2 separate regions of the Homo sapiens genome follow, and region 1 is linked to region 2. The links are contacts of gene promoters, found by promoter capture Hi-C in human tissues and cell types (Jung and others, 2019). All regions are on one chromosome and are shown on one strand. The core of a region is centred on a gene start or on the middle of the fragment in contact, and the rest is flanking DNA. Distances in the headings are between cores, read along the strand shown.

What was found. The method cuts DNA at HindIII sites, captures the fragments that hold promoters and counts their contacts. A contact is called where the count stands out against the background at its distance.
Region 1: a contact is called between a fragment that was not itself captured here and the fragment with the promoter of A4GNT in region 2, in 3 of the 25 tissues and cell types used here (aorta, spleen and thymus).

The regions. Positions count from the first base shown.
Region 1 is chr3:138,308,132-138,313,763 of GRCh38, reverse strand. All of the region lies in intron 6 of NME9 (NME/NM23 family member 9), which reads left to right. Among named protein-coding and RNA genes, the nearest start is that of NME9, 19 kb to the left of the region's middle. The HindIII fragment of the contact is 7,325 bases long and covers 1-5,458 here.
Region 2 is chr3:138,128,891-138,134,645 of GRCh38, reverse strand. A4GNT (alpha-1,4-N-acetylglucosaminyltransferase) reads left to right here and starts at 2,256. Exons shown (of 3, transcript NM_016161.3): 1 at 2,256-2,434; 2 at 3,364-3,797. The coding sequence starts at 3,390. The HindIII fragment of the contact is 13,843 bases long and covers 1-5,755 here.

The DNA.
Region 1 (5,632 bases), core at 547-3,046, 180 kb before region 2:
CATGTTGCCACAAATGACAGGATTTTAATCTTTTAAATTAATGAATAATATTCCCTTGTGTATATACACCACATTTTCTTTATTCATCCATTGATGGGCACTTAGGTTGATTCCATATTTTGGCTACCGTGAATACTGCTGCAATAAACACGGGAGTGCAGATATCTCTTGATTTCCTCTCTTTTGGATATATACATAGTAGTGGGATTGTTGGATCATATGGTAGCTCTAGTTTTGTTTTTTCAGGGACCTCCATACTGTTTTCTATAGTGGCTGTGCTAATTTACATTCATACCAGCAGTATATGAACATTCCCCTTTCTCTACATCCTCACCTCATTATTCTTTTTTTTGTTTTGCTTTGTTTTGTTTTGAGACAGAGTCTCCCTCTGTCGCCCAGGTTGGAGTGCAGTGGTGTGATCTTGGCTCACTGCAACCTCTGCCTCCCAGGTTCAAGCAATTCTCGTGCCTCAGCCTCCCTGAGTAGCTGGGATTACAAGCACCCGCCACCACACCTGGCTAATTTTTACATTTTTAGTAGAGACTGGATTTCGCCATGTTGGCCAGGCTGGTTTTGAACTCCTGACATCAGGTGATCCACCCGCCTTGGCCTCCCAAAGTGCTGGGATTACAGGCGTGAGCCACCACACCTGGCCTCCCTTTTTTTTCTTAATAGTCCCCATTCTAACTGGGGTGAGATGACATCTTATTGTGATTTTATGATTTGCATTTCCCTGATGATTAGTGATATTGAGCACCTTTTTCATATACCCACTGGCCATTTTTATGTCTTTTTTTGGAGAAATGTCTACTCAGCTCTTTTGCCCATTTAAAAATCAGATTATTTTTCTTTTTGCTTTTAAGTTGTTTGAGCTCCTTATATATTCTGGTTATTAATCCCTTGTCGGAGGGATAGTTTGCAAATATTTTCTCCCACTCTGTGGGTTGTCTCTTCACTTTGTTGATTGTGTCCTTTGCTTTGCAGAAGCTTCTTTGCTTGATGTGATCTCATTTATCTATTTTTGCTTTTGTTGCCTATGCTTTTGAGGTCTTACACAAAAAATCTTTGTTCAGACCAATATCCTGGAGCATTTCCCCAATGTTGTCTTTTGATAGTTTCATAGTATCAGGTCTTAGAATTATGCCTTTAATCTATTTTGATTTTGTATTTGTATATGGTGAGAAATAGGGGTGTAATTTCATTCTTCTGCATATGGTTATTCAGTTTAACCAGCACCATTTATTGAAGAGAATGTCCTTTTCACCATTGTATGTTCTTGGCACCTTTGTTGAAAATGAGCTGGCTATAAATGTGTGGATTTACATCTGGGTTCGCTATTCTGTGTCTGTTTTTATGCTAGTATTTTGCTGTTTTGGTCACTATAGCTTTGTAGTATAATCTGAAGTCAGGTAGTGTGATGCCTCCAGGTTTGTTATTTTTGCTCAGGATGGCTTTGGTTATTTGGGGTCTTTTGTGGTTCCATATAAATTTTAGGATTGTATTTTCTATTTCTGAGAAGAATGTCTTTGGTATTTTGATAGGGATTGCATTGAATCTGTAAATTGCCTTGGGCACTATTAACATTTTAACAATATTAATTCTCCCAATCCATCAGCATGGAATATCTTTCCATTTGTGTGTGTGTGTGTCCTCTTCAATTTCTTTCATCAGTGTATCATAGTTTTCCTTGTAGAGAGCTTTCACATCTTTTGGTTAAATTGAAGTCTACATTTTTATATTCTTTGTAGCTATTGTAAATGTGATTGCTTTCTTGGTTTCTTTTTCAGATTGTTTGCTGTTGGTATATACATATGCTACGGGTTTTTGTATGTTGATTTTGTATCCTGCAACTTCACTGATTTCGTTTATCAGTTCTAACAGTTTTTTGGTGGGGTCTTTGAATTAAAGTGGTAAAAGCAGGCATCCTTGTCTTATTCGAGATTTTTGAGGGAAGGCTTTGAAATTTTCCCCATTCACTATGATGCTGGCTGTGGGTTTGTTATACATGGCTTTTATTGTTTTGAGGTATGTTCCTTCTATACCCAGTGTTTTGAAGGTTTTTTATCATAAAGGGAATTCAAATTTTATTGAATGGTTTTTCAGCATCTATTGGAATGATTATATGGTTTTTGTTCTTGGTTCTGTTAATGATTTGATGAATCACATTTATTGATTTACATATGATGAACCCTTTTTACATCCCTGGGATGAATCCCACATAGTGAATGATCTTTTTGATGTGTTGTTGAAGTTGGTTTGTTAGTATTTTGTTTAGGACTTTTTCATCTATGTTCTTCAAGGATATTGGCCTGGTTTTCTCGTTTTGTTGTGTCCTTGTCTGGTTTTGCTATCAGGGCAATTCTGGCCTCACAGAATGAGTTTGGAAGTTTCCCCTCCTCTTCAAATTTTTTTGAAGAGTTTGAGTATAATTGGTATTAGTTATTCTTTAAATGTTTGGTAGAATTTAGAATTGAAGCCATCAGGTCCTGAGATTTTCTTTGGCAGAAGACTTTTTATTACAGTTGTGATCTTGTTATTTGTTATTGGTTTGTTGAGGTTTTCTATTTCTTCATGGTTCAATCTTGGTAGACTGCATATATCCAGGAATTTATCTATTTCTTTTAGGTTTTCAAATTTGTTGGTGTATAGTTGTTCATAACAGTGTCTAATGATTCTTTATATTTCTGTGGTTTCCAGTTGTTATGTCTCCATTTTCTTTCTGATTTTATTTGGGTCATCTCTTTTTCTTAGTCTAGCTAAAGTTTCGTTGATTTTATCTTTTCAAAAAATCAACTTTTTGCTTCATTGATCTTCTGTATTTTTTAGGCTCAATTTCATTTATTTCTGCTCTGATCTTTATTATTTGCTTCCTAGTACTAATTGGGGGTTTGGTTATTGCTTTTTTAGCGCATTTGGGTGCATCCATTCGGTTATTTGAAGTCTTCCTACGTTTTTTGATGTAAGCATTTATTGCTACAAACTTCCCCTTTACTGTATTACTCCTTTTACTGTATCCTGTAGATTTTGGATGTGTATTTCCGTTTTCATTTGTTTCAAGAAATTAAAAATTTCCCTTTTTAATTTATTCTCTGATGCATTTGTTGTTCATGAGTATGTTGTCTAATTTTCATGTGTTTGTGTAGTTTCTGAGGTTCCTCTTACTATTGATTTCTAATTTTATTTCACTGTGGTCAGAAAAGATATATATGATTTCTGCTTTTTTAAATTTGTTGTGACTAGTTTTGTGGCTTATAATTTGCTCTATTCTGGAGAATATTCCACATGCTGATGAAAATAATGTCTTTTCTGTAGCAGTTGGGTGAAATCTTCTGTAAATATCAGTTAGGTCTGTTTGGTCTAGTATGCAGTTTGACTATGACGTTTGTCTTCTGCCTGAATGATCTGTCCATCACTAACAGTAGGGTGTTGAAGTCCCCTATGTATTGTAGTATTGTATTACTGTATTGCAGTCTATCTTTCCCTTTAGATCTATTAATGTTTGTTTTATATACTTGAGTGTTCTGGTGTTGGGTAGATATTTATAATTGTTACTCTTGATGAACTGACTCCTTTATCATTATATAGTGACCTTCTCTAAGTATATTTTCTCTTGCTCTCTTTTGGTTTCCACTTGCAATGAATATCTTTTTCCATGCCTTCACTTTCAGTCTATGTGTCTTTATAGGTAAAGTGGGTTTCTTGTAGGCAGCATATAGTTGGGTCTTGGTTTCTTTTCTTTTTTTTTTTTGAGATGGAGTTTCACTCGTCGCCCAGGCTAGCATGATCTTGGCTCACTGCAACCTCCACCTCCTGGGTTCAAGCGATTCTCCTGCCTCAGCCTCCCAATTAGCTGGGATTACAGGCATGGACCACCACACCTGGCTAATTTTGTATTTTTAGTAGAGATGGGGTTTCTCCATGTTGGTCAGGCTGGTCTGGAACTCCCGACCTCAGGTGATCTGCCTGCCTTGGCCTCCCAAAGTCTTGGGATTACAGGCATGAGCCACTGCATCTGGCTTTTTTTTTTCTTTTGAGACAGTCTAGCTCTGTCACCCAGGCTGGAGTGCAGTGGCATGATCTTGGCTCACTCTAGTTCTGTCACCCAGGCTGGAGTGCAATGGTGCGATTTTAGCTTACTGCAACCTCCGCCTCCTGGGCTCAGGTGATTCTCATGCCTCAGCCTCCTGGGTAGCTGGGATTACAGGCGTGTGCCACCATGCCCAACTAATTTTTGTATTTTTAGTAGAGACAGGGTTTCACCATGTTGGCCAGGTTGGTCTTGATCTCCTAGCCTCGAGTGATCCACTTGCCTTGGCCTCCCAAAATGCTGGGATTATAGGCGTGAGCCACTGTGCCCAGCCAACAGTGGGTTTTATACCTCAAATGTCTTCTTTTTGCATATTAGTATTTTTTTCTTTCAGATTAAAGATTTCCTTAGGCATTCCTTCTTTTTTTTTTTTTGTTTGAGATGAAGTCTCACTCTGTCAACCAGGCTGAAGTGCAGTGGCACAATCTTGGCTCACTGCAACCTCTGCCTCCTGGGTTCAAGTGATTCTCCTGCTGCCTCAGCCTCCCCAGTAGCTGGGATTACAGGCATGTGCCACCACACCTAGCTAATTTTTTTTTTGTATTTTTAGTAGAAACAGGGTTTTGCCCTGTTGGTCAGGCTGGTCTTGAACCCCTGATGTCAGGTGATCTGCCCACCTCAGCCTCCCAAAGTGCTGGGCCACCATGCCTGGCCTGCCTTCATATTTGAAGGATAGCTTTGCTGGGTACAGTATTCTTGGATGACAGTTTTTTTTTTTTTTTTTTTTTTTTCTTTCAGTATTTTGGAAATGTCATTCCACTGCCTCCTGGCCTATATAGTTTCTATTGAGAAGCCTGTTGCTAGATAAATTGGAAAGACTCTGGGAAGCTTAACCATAAAATATTTTGTCTCCAGTCACTTGACTTCAAACATACTGTGTCAAATATCTTTTTGGATCTTTATCAGCATTTTGGGCACATTTCACAGCATTTTATGTTCAAATATAACACGTGTGACTTTCATCGCAATTACCAGGCATCAAAAAAGCTGCATGTAATAAAATGGAGGGTAGCAACACCAATAATCGAAAGCAATGATGCTGTTATTTCCTTAGTTCTTATTTGAACTTTTTAAAAAAGCTCAAGCTTCTTTTTTCACCTCTTTCTTAAATGTTAGAAAACCTTTCCTTCCCAGAGCCCTACAACCTCTTTCCTGTGTTCCCCAAATATTAACTTGCAGATTTTACACTCCTGGGTATCACAGTACTTCTTGAACCCTTCATATGAGAACAACTTGACCTGACAGAATGAAGAAAAGCTAACAGTTAGGAAGGCTGTTGCTGGGACGGTGTCTCTTGGTGGTAACTGAGACATGAGGGAAAACCAGAATTAGGCTCAGGAACTGTGTTGATAAGAGGAGGAAGATTTTTTAAATTATTGCTTGAAATAGGCTGTTTTTACATGTGTGGAGAATAAGAATTGTTTGAGTTGGATTCTAACAACGGAGAAGGCACAGTTTAGGACAGCAAAACTTCAAGGGTGAAGAGAAAATCAGTGATTGTGATTCTGCAGGAGACATTTGTTGCTCCCCTGTTGCATCATCTCC
Region 2 (5,755 bases), core at 1,007-3,506:
GAGCTTCTAGGGATCTGTAAAGTCCAGGTTAAGAGCTGCTGCTGTGACACCTGCCTGAACAGACAGAAGTTAGTGTGGTATAGGCCAGGAAAGGCAGAAAGGGGTGCAGAAGGAAGGGAAAGTAGTTCTGTTTCTCAAACCAAAGGGAATGCTGAAGGATGGATGTTGGGGGCCCTGAGAAGTTCCAGGTAGAGTGGCTCAGATGACAGGAGGCCTTCTCAGAAAGACACAGGAAGGACTTTGGGCTATGAACCTACAGAGGCTCCAAGTACCAGTGACCTGGCTTCTGAACGCATCTCATCAACTCTTATACAGGGTTGAAGATTTCCCTCTTAAAAGTTCACTGGGGACCAGGCGCGGTGGCTCATGCCTGTAATCCCAGCACTTTGGGAGGCCAAAGTGGGCGGATCACTTGAGGTCAGGAGTTCGAGACCAGCCTGGCCAATATGGTGAAACCCTGTCTCTACTAAAAATACAAAGATTATCTAGGAATGGTGGCACATGCCTGTAGTCCCAGCTACTTGGGAGGCCAAGGAAGGAGAATCACTTGAACCAGGGAGGCAGAGGTTGCAGTGAGCCAAGATCACACCACAGCACTCCAGCCTGTGCAACAGAGGGAGACTCTGTCTCAAAAAAAAACAAAAAAAAAAAAAACAAGGTTAGAATAGGGAATAGATTTCACTCATCTGAACAAAACAAAACAACTTAATGTTTGTTATCAGGGAGTACAAATACCATCCATATTGATATAATTCTATTTTTCTCTTCTATTTTCCTTGGTAGAAAGTGACAATAACTTCTTTGGTTTAAAGAGAACTTTCATTCTCACAGTGAGCCTGAGGTCGGTCATTTTCTGCACTTTTCAAGGGAGTTGAGGCTCTGGGCAGTTTAGGGGCTTGTCTAGTGCCCTCAGCCTGTGGTGGCTGGAGGCATAACTCCAAGCTCAGTGCTACTTCCATCATGCTTTCTACTTGGTTCTTGGTCAGATAGGTCCTACTTTTGTGCTTGGGATTTCACTGCATTGCTGATGCTCACATTCATCCTCACCTGACAAAGGCCATTAACTACATCACTGATCTCTGCCTTGACCACTTGTTCAATAGTTTTAGCCACTGGGCTAGCAGTTGGGAGGCACTAAGATATGTGACCCACCTGAGGCCCAGGAATGTGTTATCACTCCCACAGATGGGGTCCTCTAGTTACCCCTGGGCAAGGAGCAGGAGCACTAATCTCCACTCCCCTTCATAGGAAAGAACAACCAATCTGTCCAATTACAGAGAACTTTGGAAAGATGCCAAGGCACTCTGAGCCCAGAATTAATGAGGTCCAGAGAAGAAATTCAGCTCCAAAAGGAAGAGGTTTGTGGAGACCTACAAGCTGTTTCTGGGGTCCTTGGACACATAGAAAACCAGAAGCCATCAATGAGTGGGGCAGCTTTAACTCCCTTCATGTAGGACCTGCTATGTTAGAATCTAAAGTCTGCTCAGGAGCAGGCCTACCTGCTCACACTAGAGCATCCAGGGGGAACTGTGAATACCTGCTCATGGCCAAGACAGGTGACTCTCAGCAGAGGATGGCTCCAAAGAAGATTGCTAAGAGCTCATTTCAGGGGCGGTGGAGAATAGGCCACAGGTGAGTGCTAACACCTTGGGAAATGTGGGGACTGCCACATCAGTGGAGGACAACAAAGCTGGCTTCCTGAGACTGGGACGAGGCTTATACCCCATAAGGGGGACCTTGGGGAAAAAGGAGCCTTCCTGCAGCCACTGTGACTGACACTGGGGAATCACTTCTCATTCTAGATCACTGGGCCTTTGGACTGCAGGGCTTTGTTCATTGCTTATTTGTGGTGATGGGCTCTCTTTCCTTTTAATCAAACTTTGTGCTTGCAAAGGGGAGTTTGTACCACCTTACAGGGTCTCTGTCCATAATTTTGATTCAAGCTAAACTGATCAAGTGCAGGATATGTTGGCTCCAAGGTTATGCCAGGATACAGTTTTCTCCAGGTGAAATAATCCCTTTATAACCCCCATAATAGATCCACAAACAGGCAGGATTAGTGTGTGGGTCACCTTAAAAATCTGGTAAACCCCTCTTGTTCCCAAGTGGCTGTGTTTGGGAGAACTTAGTAAAGGGAGGAGCTTCCTGGGAACTTTTTGTGTTTAGTCTCAATCTGCCAATGATTTACTTACCCCTGTGTTGTTGAGTTGGAAGATTGGGTGGTGATTTATCAGAAAGTGTAGCAGGAAGAACTTGTCATTTCTAAGACCTCAAATACTGGTTAACTGCATTTGCAGCTAGAAGTTAGGCTCTGATTCACTGTTTTGTATTTTCTAAAAGGGTTATATGTAATTTGAAAGATAGACCTGCCAAGACGTGAGATCTGTGTTCTCCTTGGTTAGAGCTAACATTTTTGGTGAGGAAAGCACTGCAGGTAACGGTTCAGAGCCTGGACTTTGGTGGCAGGTGGATGCAAGTTACAGTCACAGCTCTGCTACTTGCTAATCGTGTGATCTTGGCAATTTATTTAACTCTTTAGCCTTCAGTTTGCTTCCTTTGTTAATTTTTTTTCTTAGTTCTATTAGTTTTTCAGTTATGTTTTCTGAACCTAGAGATACTTTTGCCTCTTTTAATATTCGTAGTAGAAATTCATTTCTCTTGTTTTATTGCATTGGTTACAATTATCAGATTGTAACCAATGATGTCAGTGACAATGACAATGGACATTCATATCATATTCCTGATCTTAATGGGATGTTTCAAATGTTTCATATTAAGTATGATAATTGCTATATGTTCTGGTAGACATTGTTTAAAATCAGCTTAAGAAAGTTTCCTTGTACTTTAAAAAAATTGTGAATGGATCTTAAAGTTAGTCACATTCTTGGCATCTCTTGAGCCAAAATGATCATATGGCTTTTCTTCTTTAGACTGTTAAGATAATGCATTTTATCAATAGTTTTCCCTATTAACTAATTATTTTTAATGTCAAATCATTTTAAAATCTAAGATAAATCCTGATTGGTTATGATGCATTTTTCTTTCTCACATATTTCTTGTCTTTTTCTTTTTCTTTTTTTTTAAATTTTTGTGATGATTTTCACTATGCTGCCCAAGCTAGTCTTGAACTCTTGGACTCAGGGGATCCTCCTGCCTCAGCCTCCCTAGTAGTTGGGACTACAGGCATATGCCACCATGCCTGGCTGCATTTTTTTTTTAATATTGCTGGACTTGATTTCATCATATTTTATTTAGGATATTTAAAATTTAAGTTTTTAAATGATATTCATGTATCATTTTCTTGTGTGCTATCTTTGTCAGGTTTTGCAGCTGTGATTTTTAATTAATTGTGTTGATTTAAAGGAGCAGGCTGGCACAGAGAAGAGGACATGCGGAAGGAGCTCCAGCTCTCCCTGTCAGTCACCTTGCTGCTTGTCTGTGGCTTCCTCTACCAGTTCACCCTGAAGTCCAGCTGCCTCTTCTGTTTGCCTTCTTTCAAGTCCCACCAGGGGCTGGAAGCCCTCCTGAGCCACAGACGTGGCATTGTGTTTCTAGAGACCTCAGAGAGAATGGAGCCACCCCATTTGGTCTCCTGTTCCGTAGAGTCTGCTGCCAAGATTTATCCTGAGTGGCCTGTGGTGTTCTTTATGAAGGGTCTTACTGATTCCACACCGATGCCCTCAAACTCCACATACCCAGCTTTTTCCTTCCTGTCAGCAATAGACAACGTTTTCCTCTTCCCTTTGGATATGAAAAGGCTGCTTGAAGACACACCATTGTTTTCATGGTACAATCAAGTAAGTGTTTAGGGAAACTTAAAATGTCAACGAATTGTATATATGGGTAAACTGAGGGTAAGGACTCAGGTCGGAGATGGGAATAGAACCCACATTTGGGTTGACTCTCATTTGGCCCTCTTTTTACCATGTTGAGAACTGATTCAAATAAAGAGGGAAGACTTACATTAGGTGCATCTTTATTCTGCTGTCTTTTGCTTCTAGCCTTATTTCTTTTAGGATCTTGGTTACTTTGGAGACTATTCTTAACTGAATGAGTTTTTATATCTTTTCTAGGTGTATAGGACACTTATTTTTCACTACAGTTTTAAATCCACTTATGTTAAACTTTATTTTTTTTTTCACCTAAAGTGGAAACCAGGCAATATTTAACATGAAAATGATGTAAGTAGAAAATTCATGAAGGATGGATGAAATGCTGCGATATGAGATTGGGTTGTATTAAGATATGATTGAGAAACTCCTGGAGCTTAGAGGAATTTTGTAATCCCCAAGTTTGTAGTGAACCAGAATAAGGGAATAATGTGCCAGTCTAATATTTCTCTTATAGAGGAGCTGAAATCAGGTTGCTTAAAGAAATTATAGTACAACAACTCAATGATTCCATTATGCAGGCTTTAACTATAATTTTTTAAAACTGACATCCTATGAAGACTATAACACAATATGGAATTAAAACCACCTTATGTCATAATGTAATTATAATAGTTATAACGATTTAAGTTATGCAAAAACCCACACACATCTATTGAAAAAAAAAAAGACCTGAAAGAACTCTACAACACACAATAATAGTAGGTGTTTTCGTATAATTGGATTAGGAGTGAATTTAGTGATGAGAATGTGTTGATTTTATAAATAACATTATTTTAGAAAACAAAAAGTAATCTAAACATTGACATAAAAATAATACTATTCACACTGGGTGTGCTGGCATGCACCTGTAGTCTCAGCTACTCCAGAGACCAAGGCAGGAGGATCGCTGGAGCCCAGGAGTTCAAAGGCCAGCCTGGGCAACATAGCGAGACTCTGTCTCAAACAAACACACAAGCAAAAATAATACTATTTGCTTGCCACATAAAGTTCTGTCTAAATTCTAATCATAGGCTGTAGCAAATATTACCAAACTTTTTTTTCTGTGTAGGGCCAGATAGTAAATATTTTCGGCCTTGTGGGCTAAGGTGGTAAAATTGAGGATATTATGAAGGTACTTGTGGTAGTTTCTTCCGTCTGTTGTAACAAATTACCACCAACCTGGTGGCATAAAACAACAGAAATTCATTCTCTCACAGTTCTGGAGGCCAGAAGTCCCAGATTATTTTCACTGGGCCAATATCAAACTGCTGGCAGGGCTGCATTTCCTCCTGAGTTCCTAGGGAAGGATGATCCCTTGCCTCTGACAAGCTTCTGTGGCTGCTGGCATTCCTTGGCCAATAGCCCCTCACTCCAGTCTCTGTCTCCATCTTCAAATCTCTTTTCCTCTGTTTGTGTAAAATCTCCCTCTGTCTATCCATTTAAATGACACTTGTGATTGCATTTAGGGCCCATCCAGGATACTCTCCCCATCTTAAGGTTCCTAATGACCACCTGCAAAGATACTTTTCCCATATAAGGTAACATTAACAGGTTCCAGGAATTAGGACCTGAGGTCTTTGGGTAGCCATTATTTAGCCTACTCCCTGACCCACCTCATTTGCCTGGGAACTGGGTGGACTGTCCTGGGTGGAGGGCATGCTTGTACCTAGTTGCTGTCAGCTGGAGACATTTTTTGGACTAAGTGACAGACATGATGGGGAGGGATCTGGTGGGCCAGAAAGGTAGGGGCTGGGGCTGGGAATGGCTCCTGGGGTCAGTTTATTCTTGGCCCCAGTGACTTCTACATCCCAAAGTGCATATCTCTCCTTCTGAAGAAACTTGAAGTCCTCAAATTGGGACCCATCAGGAGGAGGTGGGGCAGT